2 separate regions of the Homo sapiens genome follow, and region 2 is linked to region 1. The links are contacts of gene promoters, found by promoter capture Hi-C in blood cells and fetal thymus (Javierre and others, 2016). All regions are on one chromosome and are shown on one strand. Each heading gives the region's core, a stretch centred on a gene start or on the middle of the fragment in contact. The rest is flanking DNA. Distances are from core to core; before and after follow the strand shown.

Region 1 (7,011 bases), core at 4,154-6,653:
ATCCCAGCACTTTGGGAGGCCGAGGTGGGTGGATCACTTTGAGCTCAGGAGTTCAAGACCAGCCTGGCCAACATGGTGAAACCCTGTCTCTACTAAAAATACAAAAATTAGCCAGGCGTGGTGGCAGGTGCCTGTAATCCCAGCTGATTGGGAGGCTGAGGCAGAAGAATTGGCTGAATCCAGGAGGCGGAGGTTGCAGTGAGCCAAGACCACACCATTGCACTCCAGCCTGGGTAACAAAAGCGAAACTCCATCTCAAAAAAAAAAAAAAAAAAAAATTGTAAGGGCCTCCTATGTACCAGGTACTGGTCTAGCTGGCAGGAATATAGCAGCAAATGAGAAAATCACAAGCCCTGCTCCTAAAGAGTTTAAGTATTTCTTATATATGTAGCTCTTACACTTACAAGCGTGTAAGGATCTTCCCAATTATTCAAGCATTCCTAGGCCTCTCCACAAGGAAGATAACTAAGCCTGCATAATCCTTCATATTTACACTCAAGCTATTAAGGTAATGTGAAAAGGCTGTTGATCTGGTGAAGAGGGTGAATAGACAGGGTGAAGAAAAGTCTGAGGCCAGGCAAGTGGCTCATGCTTATAATCCCAACACTGGGAGGTTGAGGTGGGAGGACTGCGTGAGCCCAGGATTCTATACCAGCCTGGGGAACACAGCAAGACACCACCTCTACAAAAAAAAAGTAGCTAGGCATAGTGGCATGCACCTGCAGTTCCAGCTACAAAAAGAAAAGCCTGAAAGAATGAAAGATTAATAGAGAATAGAATGACTGATCAGCTTAGTGACCACAAGATTCCAGTATAAAATCTTCAGTTAAAAGCTATCAGGTAAGGTTAGAATCCACAGAACCCTACACATTCATAATTGTTCAGGTAGAATTTTTTAACTCTCCATTGTAAATAAGTACAAAGAGCAGGGCCATATGCGTCACAGCCATTATCTTTATGCCTGGGTCTAGATTTACGAAAGAAGGAAGGCTTAAGGACTCACAGAACTGAATTTATCCTTAATATACCAAAGTATTTTTAAACAAAAGTTGATGATTCTGAAAAAGATGAGAATTATTTTAGTTCTCAGAGCTGCAACTTCACCTTGAACTGCTGGGTAGCATTTTCCTTTTGGTCCCCCGGTAAGCATCTTCCATCTGTTTTTCCAGTTCTCTTATTTTCCACATATCTGATTCCTCCTGAATCTAGAATTTTTAAAAAGGAAATAAAAATAAGTTACTAAAAATAACTTTACATTACAGAAAAGTAACTAACTGGCCGGGCACAGTGGCTCACACCTGTAATCCCAGCACTTTGGGAGGCCAAAGCAGGCAGATCATGAGGTCAAGAGTTTGACACCAGCCTGACCAACATGGTGAAACCCCGTCTCTAATAAAAATACAAAAATTAGCCGGGCGTGGTAGCATGCACCTGTAATCCCAGCTACTCAGGAGGCTGAGGCAGGAGAATCGCTTGAACCCTGGAGGCAGAGGTTGCAGTGAGCCGAGATTGCACCACTGCACTCCAGCCTGGGCGATGGAGTGAGACTCTGTATCAACAAAAAAAGAAAAAAAAAAAAAAGCAACTAACTGAAAATACAATCTGACTAATTATTGGGCTACAGACTGGGCTATGATCAGGAACCTGGAAAACAAATTGGTTTCTCTAGAAAGTGGCTGAACAGTCCAATCCAGTAAATCTCAAATATGTGGAAATCTTCCCCAATAGAATTTTTAAACCGCTGCACAGACAAACATCACCTTATCAATCTTGCAATTATGCTGCGATTAGCAAATGATAATGCCACATTTCCAAAATGCAATATGATTTTAATTATATCATCTCAATTGAACCTTAAGCAATCTCATGAGGAAAATATAGCAGCTACCATTATTACATTTTACTGTAAAGAAACAAAAGCTCAGAGATTTTAACAAAGTCAAAAAACTAGTAAGGACAGGTCTTTAAACTCCCTAAGCTAAATCTCTTCTGGTAATATTATAATTTTTGTCAAAAATAAAATAAAATAAAATAATCAGTATGGCTGCTAGGGAATTTCTTGAAAAGCAGAATGTGATTACCCAAAGAACACATTTTATTTCTAAGTCTTCCTGCATAATTTCATTAGATCTGTGCTAGATTTATCTTTTTCTAGCTACCATTTTAAATCTAAGCTTACTATATAACTAGGGGCAGGTTAACATAATTGCATAGGCAGCTCGGGTAACAGTTTTACCCTCGCCCATAATTTTAAAAATCAGGTGATATGATAATAATAATATGATCAAACCAAAAGTAGTACAGTTTACTGAAGAAAACTAAACCAGGGGCCTTGGCCCTCTTTTCATTATATGTGCTCTCCTAGGTGACCTCATCTACTCTCATGACCTCTTATCATCAACCTATACATCAATAATCCCGAAACCTTTATGTCCAGCCCCAACTTTTCTCCTCTACTCCAAGTCTGAATTTTCAACTGCTTGGACATCCTATAAGCACCTCACCATCAACATGTTGAAAACCAAACTAATTACCTTTCCTATCATAATTGTCCCATTTTTTGTTCTTTATCTCAATTAACAGAATTGTCATCATCTACCCAGTCACATAGGTGGTTACACAGTTGACCTTGAACAACAGGAATCTCAACTGTGCAGGTCCACTTATCCTCAGATTTTCTTCCACCTCTGCCACCTGTAAGATAGCAAAACAAGTCCCTCTTCTTCCTCCTCAGCCTACTCAATGTGATTTTCTTAATGAAATGTTGTTTTCTCTAGCTACTTTACTATAAGAATACAGTATATAATACATGTAACATAAAAAATATGTGTTAATCCACTGTTTATGGTATCGCTATGGCTTTCAGTCAGTAGTAGGCTATTGGCACTTACATTTTGAGGGAGTAAAAAGTTATACATGGATTTTCGACTATGCAGGGGGTTGATGCCCCTAGCCCCTGCATTGTTCAAGGGTCAACTGAATTAGATTCCATTCTTATCATTATAATCTAATTAGCCACCAACTTCTTTGGATTCTATCTCCTAAATTCCTCTTCTTCATCCCTGCTGTCACTAATTTCATGCGAACCCTCATCATCTCTCACCTGTAATACTGCAATTGCCTCCTAATTACTCTCCCTTCTGTATCTCCCCATCTGATTCATTCCCTACCCAGCTGACAAACCATCTTTCTAAAATATAACTATGATCATGCCACACCCTGTTTAAAAACATTTGATGGCTTCTTTATTGCCTAGAGGAAGAAGTCTCAGCTCCAAACATCACAATCCAACTCTAATTACCACTGAGGCCTTATCTTCTGCCACTATCCCCTACCTTCCCTGCTTTCTGGATAAATTTCTTGCCATGCCCCAAGTGATTAATGCTCTTTCTCGTTGCCATATTAATGCATGATGCTGTCTATCCAGAATGATATTTCATACCTGGTAAACGTATACCTATTCAAGAACCAGTTCAAAGATCAGCAGCTGAAATACCACTAATTCTGTAAAATCTTTTCTAATTCCCCAGTGTAGATTTTATTATTTCCTCCTTAGTGCTCCAAAGCACTTTGCAAATATCTCTGTTATACAGTACTTATCAAACTGTATTATAATTATCTATTTTATTCATCATTTTATTTCCTACTGTGTACGGAAGCTTCCAAAAACTAGATGACAAGAATATTCTTTGTATCTCCCAGTTGTTCCAAAATAATGCTTGGCACACTGCTTGCCTTCAGTAAGCGTTGAGGAGTAACTAGGTTGTACCTCCCACCTTATTGTGAGCATCTGTGTGCCGGATGACATTCCTCAGGAGGACCTTCCCCAGTGGAATCCGGGACATTCTTCAATCTGAAATGAATCAACAAATAACGTTTAGTAATAATTTCTGTTATTACTTTATCTTTTCTTGAAGTTTTATAAAGAAGCATATGAGGTACAGGAAAGATCACTGAACTAGAAGTCAGAGATTCTAAAGAATAGTTTTCCCTTTACCATTAAAAGAGGGAAATGCCTAAACACACTAATGTGAGATGAAAGGAGATAATGTACATTAAAGTTCTTTGAAAATGCACAAGACTACATAAAATTAAGTGCTTTCATGAGCACCATTTTATTTAATCCTCATAACTACTTTTTATATGAGGCAAGTATCTCCATCCCTATTTTGTAGATGAAGTTCCCTTAAAGCTGTAACGTCCCAAGCCACATAGTCCCAGGCAAATGATGTATGTCACTGTCTAAATTAAAAATCAAACCTCCAATCCCAATATAGTTTGCACTGAAGCAAATACGTAGATTTGAGAGTGTCAGGAACCACGGGTGTCAACAGTAACAGAAACTGATTACTCAAAACATCAAATGCAAAGATGTCCTAAATTTCTCCATTTGGGGGCATTTTATTTCCTACTTGCTACGGAAGCTTCCAAAAACTAGATGACAAGAATATTTTCGTGTGTAGCTAGCAGGAGCTTTGTGCAACCACCCCAACGCTCACTCACCCCTTGATCCTGAGGAAATCAGGCATCTTGCTAGTGAGACGAAGAACCACTCCATTACAAGATCTCCTCCGACCCAGGAAGCCAAGGAGTCAGGGCTCAAAGGCAGCTCTGCAGCTTCACCCGAGTCCTTCGTGAAAACGCAGCCTTCCCACTGGTTACTCTGCCCTCACCTGTGGCCCAGGCCACTGCCGCGTTTCCCCCAGCCCAGACCGACAGGCAGATCTCTCTCCCGGACTGAGGCCGGAGGCTGAGCCGGGGCGGAATTCGGACAGCCCGGTTGACCTGGGCATTCCCCGCTCACGCTCCTCTAGGACGAACCCCGGGGGTAAGTTTCACTCCCCAGAAAGGCTGGGAACGCTTTGGATGGCTACGGCCTTCGGTTGGGCCCCAGAAAGTATCTAGGGAGCCTGAAGCGGGGGTTGAGGTTTCCAAGTGGAAGACAGAGGAAATATCCCCATCTTTGTCACCGGGATCCCTGTTCCCCAGCGGCCTCGGAGCTCCCGGTAACCTTCCCTCCAAACGCCCTCCCCACACAAATACACACAAACACACCCATACCGTGCGCCGCAGCCTCGCGTGGCGGGGGGTAGGGGGGAAGAAGTGGTTTGGGAGAAAAAGGAGGAGACTTCCTTTTCAGGCCGGAAGTCGTGCTCCTGAGAAATCGTCCCACCAACAGGCAGCCCAGAGACTCCCACAAGGGAGGGTTTTCAGGACACTCCAGAGGTTGACGGGTGCAGAAGGAAGGCGGGCGCTTTCCTGGAAGAGAAGTGGGTCAGGCCCAACTGAAAAGCAAGCCTGGCACCAGAAGGGGGACATTCCGGAACTAGATATGAAGAGACTTTTCTCCCTGAAGTTCCCCGGACCCAATTAGATGTTGTACCCAGGCTGGTTACCCTGGTAACAGGCGTCGCGGTTTGTCAAGGAACTGAGAGAAGAGGTGGGTTTGCCAACCTATAGAATGATTACCCGTTAGAACTGAGAGAAGAGGTGGGTTTGCAGACCTATGGAATGATTATCCGTTAGTTAAGTTTCCCGTTTAGCATAACCCTTACACAGTAATTGAAGAATCTAAACCTCTTTTCCTCATTCTAAAGATGCTGTGGGACACCTCTCCAATGGGAGAAGAGGCTAAGGAGATTTATCTGAAGACGTAGAGAAGTGTCCCAGCCTCTCTATTAGCTTACTTAATCTCGCAATAATCCTATGGTAGAGGTATTATCGTCTTCATTTTGAACAGAACATTAATTGCTCAAGGTCACAGAGCTAGTGAGAGATAGAACTAAGACCGGAATCTAGGCATTCTGGCTCACAAGTCCATGCTTTGAAATACTAAACTATACTGAGGATTAAGGAAGTCTTATGTGGCCCTCACCCCACACCACACCTCTGGCAATTTCAGAACTGGGGAGCCACCAGTCAGGTGTTGGAACAAGAAGATCAGGAAACCCAGACTTAAAATGATTACTCTGACTTGTCAGGGTCCAAATAGAAGTAAGGCCTTATCTGAGAGGACAATGTGAGAATTTAGGAAGAGGTACTAGATAATTAAAGAATAAGGAAAACATAAAGTGGTGCTGATCCACAACCTTTTAGACACAAATGCTGTCCTAACTTCACCAAAACAATTCCTGACCCATTCCACCTCCCCAAAGCAGAAATGAATCAATAATTACACAGACAGTTTTCTTCCTGAAGTCGTGTTTTTCCACAGGCTTAAGAAAATTATTCACCACTCATAAGTCATGGAGACATCCTCAAAAGGTCTGCTTACCCAAGTTACTCAGTTTTGGAACCTCCTAGATGATCTAGCTCAGAGTGACCCTGAGGGCTATGAGAAGTTTATTCAGCAGCAGCTGAAAGAAGGGAAACAGCTCTGTGCTGCCCCAGAACCACAGCTTTGTCTACAGACCAGGATTCTGGTATGTCGAGTTGGTGCCAGGGATGGGGAGGTCTTGAATGAAATGATCCCAGAATAACCAGAGAATACTTTACACTTAGGTATTGCTAATTTTTTTTGTTTTTTTTTTGTTTTGTTTTGTTTTGTTTTGTTTTTTGAGACAGAGTCTTACTTTGTCACCAGGCTGGAGTGCAATGGTGTGGTCTTGGCTCGCTGCAACCTCTGCCTCCCGGGTTTAAGCGATTCTCCTGCCTCAGCCTCCCAAGTAGCTGGGATTACAGGTGTGTACTACCATGCCCGGCTAATTTTTGTATTATTAGTAGAGGCGGGGTTTCACCATGTTGGCCAGGCTGGTCTTGAACTCCTGACTTCAGGTGATCCACCTGACTCAGCCTCCCAAAGTGCTGGGATTACAGGCATGAGCCACTGCGCCTGGCAGACTTTTTTTTTTTTTTTTTTTTTTTTTTTTTGAGATAGGGTCTTGCTGGCTCTGTCGCTCAAGCTGGAGTGCAGTGGCACAATCACAGCTCACAATCACAGCTCATTGCAGCCCAAGCGATCCTCCCACCTCAGCCTCCCAAGTAGCTGGGATCACAGGTGGGCATCACCAC
Region 2 (7,409 bases), core at 4,766-7,265, 520 kb after region 1:
GGAGCACACAACCTAGATCCCTCGCATGCGCAGTTCACAATAGGGTTCGCACTCCTATGAGAATCTAATGTTGCCACTGATCTCACAGGAGGCGGAGCTCAGGCAGTATTGCTTGCTCACTGCCTGCTATGCAGCCCGGTTCCTAACAGGCCAGGGATGGGTCCCAGTCATTGGCCTGGTGGCTGGGGACCCTTGTCATACATGGTATTATTTTGTGTGTGTGTGTGTGTGTGTGTGTGTGTGTGTGTGTGTGTGTGTGTGTGTGTGTGTGTTTTGAGACGGAGTCATGCTCTGTCACCAGGCTGGAGTACAGTGGTGTGATCTCGGCTCACTGCAACCTCTGCCTCCCAGGTTCAAGCGATTCTCCTGCCTCAGCCTCCCCAGTAGCTGGGACTACAGGTGCGTGCCACCATGCCCAGCTAATTTTTGTATCTTTAGTAGAGATGGAGTTTCACCACGTTGGCCAGGATGGTCTCGATCTCCTGACCTCGTGATCTGTCTGCCTTGGCCTCCCAAAGTGCTGGGATTACAGCCACTGCCTCCAGCCTATACATGGTATTATTCTGTTTTAAAAACCAGTTTCTCCTGGTGCCCCGGCTCTAAAGACTCATTCTAGTCACTATTTCTTTCTGCTGTTCAAATTCAAGATTCAAGAATAACTTAAGATTCTTTAGCCATTAGTTACCATTTACTGTTCTTTGGAAGAAAGAAGGAAGGGGCTGTACAGAATAATTGGCTTTGTTGCTTCTCCATCTCTGGGCTTGCAGTTTCCTAGACCTTATTTGACACTTCTGTCTTCAGTTTGCTATCCACCATTAGGTGTGTCTTACTACAAGCTCAGAAGTAATGTGGGCATAACATGCTTAACAAATTAGAAAAAGAATCATATTGAATAATTTTAGAACTGGAAGTCACCTTAGATCACACAACCTATTTGCGTTCTCACAGGGGAGGGATGGGAAACTGTGGAGGAAAGGAATCTCCGGATTCACTTCTGTGGGGTGGCTCACATGGCTCCCTGTAGCCTGCAAGGAAATGACAAAGGTGGGGTTTGGGGTCCTGGGCCTGAGCCTGGGGCTTGGGTACTGATTGACAGCTTTACTAATGATTTATTTTTATCTTGGATCAGAGGCTTTTAGATGCTCTCAACTCCAACATCATGGCAAACCCCTGTGTGCTGAGCTTAGATGGAAGGTGTGCTGCAAGTAATATGTTACCAACCATTCCAGTACCTGTGTTTGCAGATGCTGTTCCTTAAAGAATTTCAAACTAAGAAAAGTTGCAAATACAGGAGGTGGAGGCTGCAGTGAGCCAAGATCGCATGACCCTGCACTCCAGCCTAGGGAACAGAGCGAGACTCCGTCTCAAAAAACAAACAAACAAACAAACAAACAGGAATGCTTGTCGAGTAAAGAGACCAAAGTGGTTGTCTGATACATACATTTTATCTGTCATGTGTGTCACAGTGGAAAAAAAGGTTGGGAAATACGGTTTTAAATGGTTGTCTTCGTCCATTTCCTATTGCTTGTAACAGAATACCTAAAACTGGGTAATTTATAAAGAAACAAAATGTATTTCTTATAGTTCTGGAGGCCGAGAAGTCCAAGGTTGAGGGGCTGCATGTGGGAGCGTCTTTTTGCTGGTGGAGACTCTCTATAGAGTCCTGAGGCAGCGCAGGGCGTAACACGGTGAGGGGCCTGAGGGTGCTAGCTCAGGTCTCTGTTCCTCTTCTTATAAAGCCACAAGTCCTACTCCTGTGAAAACCCATTAATCCATGAGGGCAAAGCCCTCATGACCCAATCATCTCTTAAAGACCCCACCTGTCAATACTGCCACATTGGGGAATAAGTTTCTACATGAGGTTTTTTTTGTCTTTTTTTCTTGGTTGGTTTGTTTTTGAAACAGGATGTCACTTGTCACTCCGGCTGGAGTGCAGTGGCATGATCAGAGCTCACTGCAACCTTGACCTCTGGGCTCAAGTAATCCTTTCACCTCAGCTCCTGCATAGCTGGGACTATAGGCATGCACTACCACACCCAGCTAATTTTCTTATTTTTTGTAGAGACGGGGTCTCGTTATGTTGCCCAGCCTGGTCTTGAACTCCCGGGCTCAAGCAATCCTCCTGCCTCAGCCTCCCAAAGTGCTGGGATTACAGGCATGAGCCAACATGCCTGGCCAACCTGAGTTTTGAAGGGGGCAAACATTCAAATCATAGCAATTATGAAACAAACTTACTAAATTTCCATATGATACTAGCTTAATGAATAAGCTCAAGCTCAACGGGAACATAGCAAACCCTTAACATTTAGCAAATATTTGTTACATAAGTGAAGTGCAATTATTAGAGATAGAAATGGAGTTGGGTAAACTCAGGCTAGTAAACCTGAGGAGGAAAAAGAAAGTGAATAATTAAAATGCAGGGTAAGACTGGCTGTGTACAAACACAGAAGAGATCTCTAGGTCCCAGAAGAGACAACACATTAATGAAAAAAGGGAAGGGAAGATGCTGAGGGTCTGTTCTGATTACAACCTTACTCCCTTTATAGATTAACAGTGGGTCCTCAGTTCAAGCATGAGTGACATAAAGTAAGTTGTTAGCACAATTCACCAGCATCTGTTTACTTGTTACTATGCTTCCTTCTTGGGAGGCATTCCAATTACAATGACTCAGTTACCTCCTCCACCTAGGGGGACTGTGAAAAACAAACTTTTAAGCTGAAATATTCAAACTATTTGACATCAGTCTGAAAAGATGCATTGTTCATCCATTCAATAGACATTGATTGCCTACCCTGCAAGGTGCTGCCATGGGTTGCAGGACCCATGATGCTGACCGGCAGATAGGATTCCTACTAGCGAAGCTTGCAGTGTAATAAGGGCCAGAGTTGTGGGGCACAGTGCAGGATACAGGGCAGATGATAGAGCGAGGCTGTCTGAAGCAAGAATGGAACCTTGGGCATTTTAGAGCAGTGAATCAGTCCTTCAGGACCATGTGCTCAGTTTTTGCTTGAAATGTAACCACAAAACACACTTCCCAAAACAGGGAGTTTTGTTTCCTAGTATATTCAGTTCTGCAGTAGGGCAGATAATTTGGCAGGGATTCCAATCCACTACATTCGATACTGCTTTGACCCAGACTAGTTAACTCTAGAGGTTGGGGCTCCATATGTGAAGCAAAGTTGCTGAGCTATTAAAAAATAAGACATATGAGGAAAGGTTAAAATATGAGATTATGAAGCTGATTGAGGGAAATTGCTGGTGATTTAAATAATGGCTTTCAGACCTCCAATGTGTATATGATTGATGCTGGGCTGAGAAACTTTTCTCTGAATTTGAGGCCAAACACAATTGAAACAATGAGGTCTGTCAACAAAAGGTAGAACTGTCATCATTATTAGTCATGTTATGTTGATGCTGCAGTAACAAACATGCAAACAGAACAACGTGTAGTATCAGGGATGGGAGTACATAAGCCTAGAAGCTGAGACTCAAATTTCATTTTTAGTTTCTTTAAAAAATATTTTTGTTTAGAGACAGGGTCTCATTCTGTTGCCCACGCAGGAGAGCAGTGGCGTGATCCTAGCTCACTGCAGCCTCAACCTCCTGGGCTCAAGCAATTCCCCCACCTCGGCCTCCTGAGTAGCTGGGACTGCAGGCGCATGCCACCATGCCCTGCTAATTTTTAAATTTTTTGTAGAGTCAGAGTCTCACTATTTTGCCCAGGAAGGTCTGGAACTCCTGAACTCAAGCTATCCTCCAATCTTGGTCTCCCAAGGTTCTGGGATTACAGGCGTCAGCCACTGCGCCTGGCCTCATTTTTAGTTTTGCAAGTAGTTAGATATTTCCAAGTCTGGATGTCAGGAGAAACAAAAAAAGGTCCCCTGTGGCCACATGCAGAGGAAGGGCTGTAGACACAGACTAACACTCTGTTTCCTGCTCTTTATTTGATTTTATTATTCTTTGAAAAAAACAGATATGAGAATTGCCGATGCACAGGCCAGCCTGTGCTACCATATGTGGGCTTTGAAAAGATTCTGGATTTTCTGTCTGTATGATAATATGTGCTGCTGTATAGAGCAAGGAAAACAGAGGTGGTTTTCCAAGCTCCACAGCCCATCTTTATCACTGCCAGGTAAAGCTCTGTCCCTTAAAAGTTAGATACAACCAACCAAGTGACATTTATTGAGACTCTACTATGTGCCAGACCTGGGCAAGGTACCTTCTCATAAGGTCGAGCTGGATGACTGGCTGGGATAAAGGATACAGCCAAAACGTGGGGGTCCAACAGGAGGTCGTGGGGACCACATGCTCATCCACAGGACCTGATCTAAGCTTGTTCATAGACCTTCTGTGTATTTTCCTTATAGAAAATAAGAGGATTTTGCTTATCATTTCTTTTCCATTGTTGTCAGTTTCAGTTTTTTATATGTCCTAATAACCATATATTTCATTTTCCACCCATCCAGACTCCTTACTCCTCCCCATTTGGTCTGGGGAGAACTCATAAATGTCATTGGTCACAAATCCACTCTCCACGCTCACCAGAGTCACAAACCCACTTTCTGATGGGTTCACAGCCATGTTGTCATAGTCACAAGACATGTCATCGGGAGTGGCTTCTCCCGAACACACTCGGAATGAAATATTCTTCAGGTCTGGCCGGGTCTCAGCTAAGTCAGCTTCGCTTTGTTTTCTTATGACATTGTAGACCTCTAGGTCCGGGCTGTTTCCCTGGTGAGGAGAGGGCCAGATGGTGTGTTGCTTCTTTGTGCTAGGGTCTGGCTGCTCCCGTTTTCTAGGAAGAAAGAAAACCAGGGCTGAGTGTTTTAGACCAGGTGATTGAGAATACCCTTGTGCTTCCTGTTGAGACGAGAGGAAGCAGCCCTGGGCAGTCACCCAGCTGCATGTCTCGTCTATGTAACTTACAGGCCAGGGCTTCGGAGTGGGAGGGAACCAAACAGGGAGATGTTATGTTCAAAGTGATTGTGTATCTGTCATTCACTGCTGCCCAAGTGTGGGCAGGGTTATTATCCTGGGGTTCCCTAGAGTCCCTGGAGTGTCCAGGGATAGAACTGAATAGAGAAAAAATACCACATTACAAAAAAAACCCAAAAAAACAAAAAAACACCTCAGCTGTGCACAGTGGCCCACGCCTGTAATCCTAACACTTTGGGAGGCTGAGGCAGGTGGATCACTTGAGCCCAGGAGTTTGAGACCAGCCTGGGCAACATGTTAAAACCCCGTCCCTATAAAAGATACAAAAATTAACCAGGCATGGTGGTGCACACCTGCAGTCCCAGCTAGTTGGGAGGCTGAGGTGGGAGGATAACCTGGGAGGTCAAGGCCGCAGTGAGCTGTGATGGTACCGCTGCACTCCAGCTTGGGCGACAGAGTGAGACCCTGTCTCAAAAATAAAATAAAATAAAATAAAATAATAAAATAAAATAAAATAAAACCAAAACAACAAAAAACACGACTCATCCATAAGTGAAATTTAGCATGTCCTTCCATTATGAATGTAAGAGATAAAACAGCAGGATTAATATCTTTGACTTGATCACTACTAGAAATTATAGATGTTTTCATATCACAGTTATAGATGCCTTGAAATATTTTAACCTCATCTCTACTTCAAAATTATAATAATTATACCCAGCACTAAATAAAGAAGCATTAATAAAGGAGTACATGTATTACTAATCACATATTCATTTTTGGAAATATTTTGCTAAACTATATAACAGTATGATTGCTTCCTTTGCAACCCAATGTATTTTATTTTATGCATTTAAAATATTGTACTGGGCCGGGTGTGGTGGCTCATGCCTGTAATCCTAGCACTTAGGGCAGCTGAGGTGGGCGGATCACCTGAGGTCAGGAGTTCGAGACCAGCCTGGCCAACATGGTGAAACCCATCTCTACTAAAAATACAAAATTAGCCAGGCATGGTGGTATGTGCCTGTAATCCCGGCTACTTGGGAGGCTGAGGCACGAGAATCACTTGAACCCGGGAGGCGGAGGTTGCAGTGAGCCGAGATTGCGCCATTGCACTCCAGCCTGGGCGACAGAGAAAGACTCTGTCTCAAATATATATATATATATATATTTTTTTAAATAAAATAATAAATAAAATAAAATATTGTTCTGGAAGGAGTCCATAGGCCTCACCAGACTGCTGCAGGGCACAAAAAAGATTAAAAACCCTTGGGATAGACAGACACCCCAGCTTTAGAGTCACAATTCCCAAATCCTGTTAAAGTACAAAACAGAGAGTCAGGAAAGGAAATCAAGAACCAACTGAGTAGGCAGAGTAGGCAGCTGGAAAATATGCCTGTAATTTTTTGAACTAAATTCTACTTTAAGATTCAAAGGAAATAACTAATAAAATAATCCCAATAATAGGTAACATTCAAGTGCTTAGTATATACTTATTCTGCAAGTATTAACTGCCTTAATCCTTATAATAATCCTACAAGGAAGTTACAATTAACTGAAATAGATTTTACATTGGAATCTTACTAATTCATCTCAAATTGGTCTTTAAAGGGAGTCAAATCTTAAATTGGGCCTTAGTTTTCCTGTTGTAAATGGGAATACTAGACATCTTCTCCATATACCATGATGATGGAGAATAAAAAGGTAACTGAGAAGAGCTTTCAGTACTAAAAATAAAATAAAATAAAATAAAATAGTGGCACACGATCCTGACCATATACAGAAATTGTTGATGCCACCTAGTGTAGCTATTTTATAGCACTCTATACTTGTGTACTGAATTAAAAGAAAAGTCAGTTAAAAGGAATTTGGCTCTTTCAGTTTGAATTAAGTGGTTTAGTTTCAGATGTTTACCAGAATACTTTGCAGCAGTCATTTTTCATATGGCTCACTATTCATTCCTTCACTCAGTCCACAAACATTTTCAGAGTGAGGGCATACATTCATGAGAGCATTTTTGCTGGGTGACGTGTGAGTGCACGGGAGGTGAATAATGCAATTTCACCCTTCAAGTTGTTTTAAAATCTTCCACGTACAGACAGTAAAGCAAGTAAGATCACTCTCTTAATCACAACTAAGCACAAATGCCTAGTACTTCTGAATGCCCTGACCTGTCAGAGAACCCACTCTCCAATCTGCAATGGTGATACTCTTGGTGCTGCCGTGGGTTTTAATGAAGTAAACAAGGCAATATCCAAATCTCAAAGAGAGCAGAAGATGCAAAGGTTTACACAATGAAGGTTTTACTTGCCTTTTTCTACAGATCCAAACCCAACATACAACTGTGGTGACCACAAGGAGGAGGAGAAGGGGAATGCTGGGGATTAGGATGTAGGCCAGATTCAAGGCAGCTTCTGAAAAGAAAGAAAGCACATGATCAGCATTGGCTGTTTTTTGTTTTGTTTTTCTGTGCT

Evidence for each region. Contacts are between HindIII fragments. The CHiCAGO score rates a contact against its expected background, and 5 or more counts as called.
Region 2: a contact is called between a fragment that was not itself captured here and the fragment with the promoter of PIH1D2 in region 1, in 1 of 17 cell types (M2 macrophages). The highest score is 7.9, in M2 macrophages.

Annotation. Positions count from the first base shown.
Region 1 is chr11:112,072,409-112,079,419 of GRCh38, reverse strand. It overlaps PIH1D2 (PIH1 domain containing 2), which reads left to right and starts at 5,403. Exons shown (of 6, transcript NM_138789.4): 1 at 5,403-5,440; 2 at 6,215-6,422. The coding sequence starts at 6,246. NKAPD1 (NKAP domain containing 1) reads right to left here and starts at 5,121. Exons shown (of 6, transcript NM_018195.4): 1 at 4,504-5,121; 2 at 3,777-3,853; 3 at 1,105-1,205. The coding sequence starts at 3,845. RefSeq lists enhancers at 4,629-4,678, 4,739-4,858, 5,269-5,318. The HindIII fragment of the contact is 10,336 bases long and covers 4,427-7,011 here.
Region 2 is chr11:111,557,481-111,564,889 of GRCh38, reverse strand. LAYN (layilin) reads right to left here. Exons shown (of 7, transcript NM_178834.5): 6 at 7,247-7,349; 7 at 3,145-4,795. The coding sequence ends at 4,432. Among named protein-coding and RNA genes, the nearest start is that of LAYN, 20 kb to the right of the region's middle. RefSeq lists a silencer at 2,592-2,886. The HindIII fragment of the contact is 3,362 bases long and covers 4,335-7,409 here.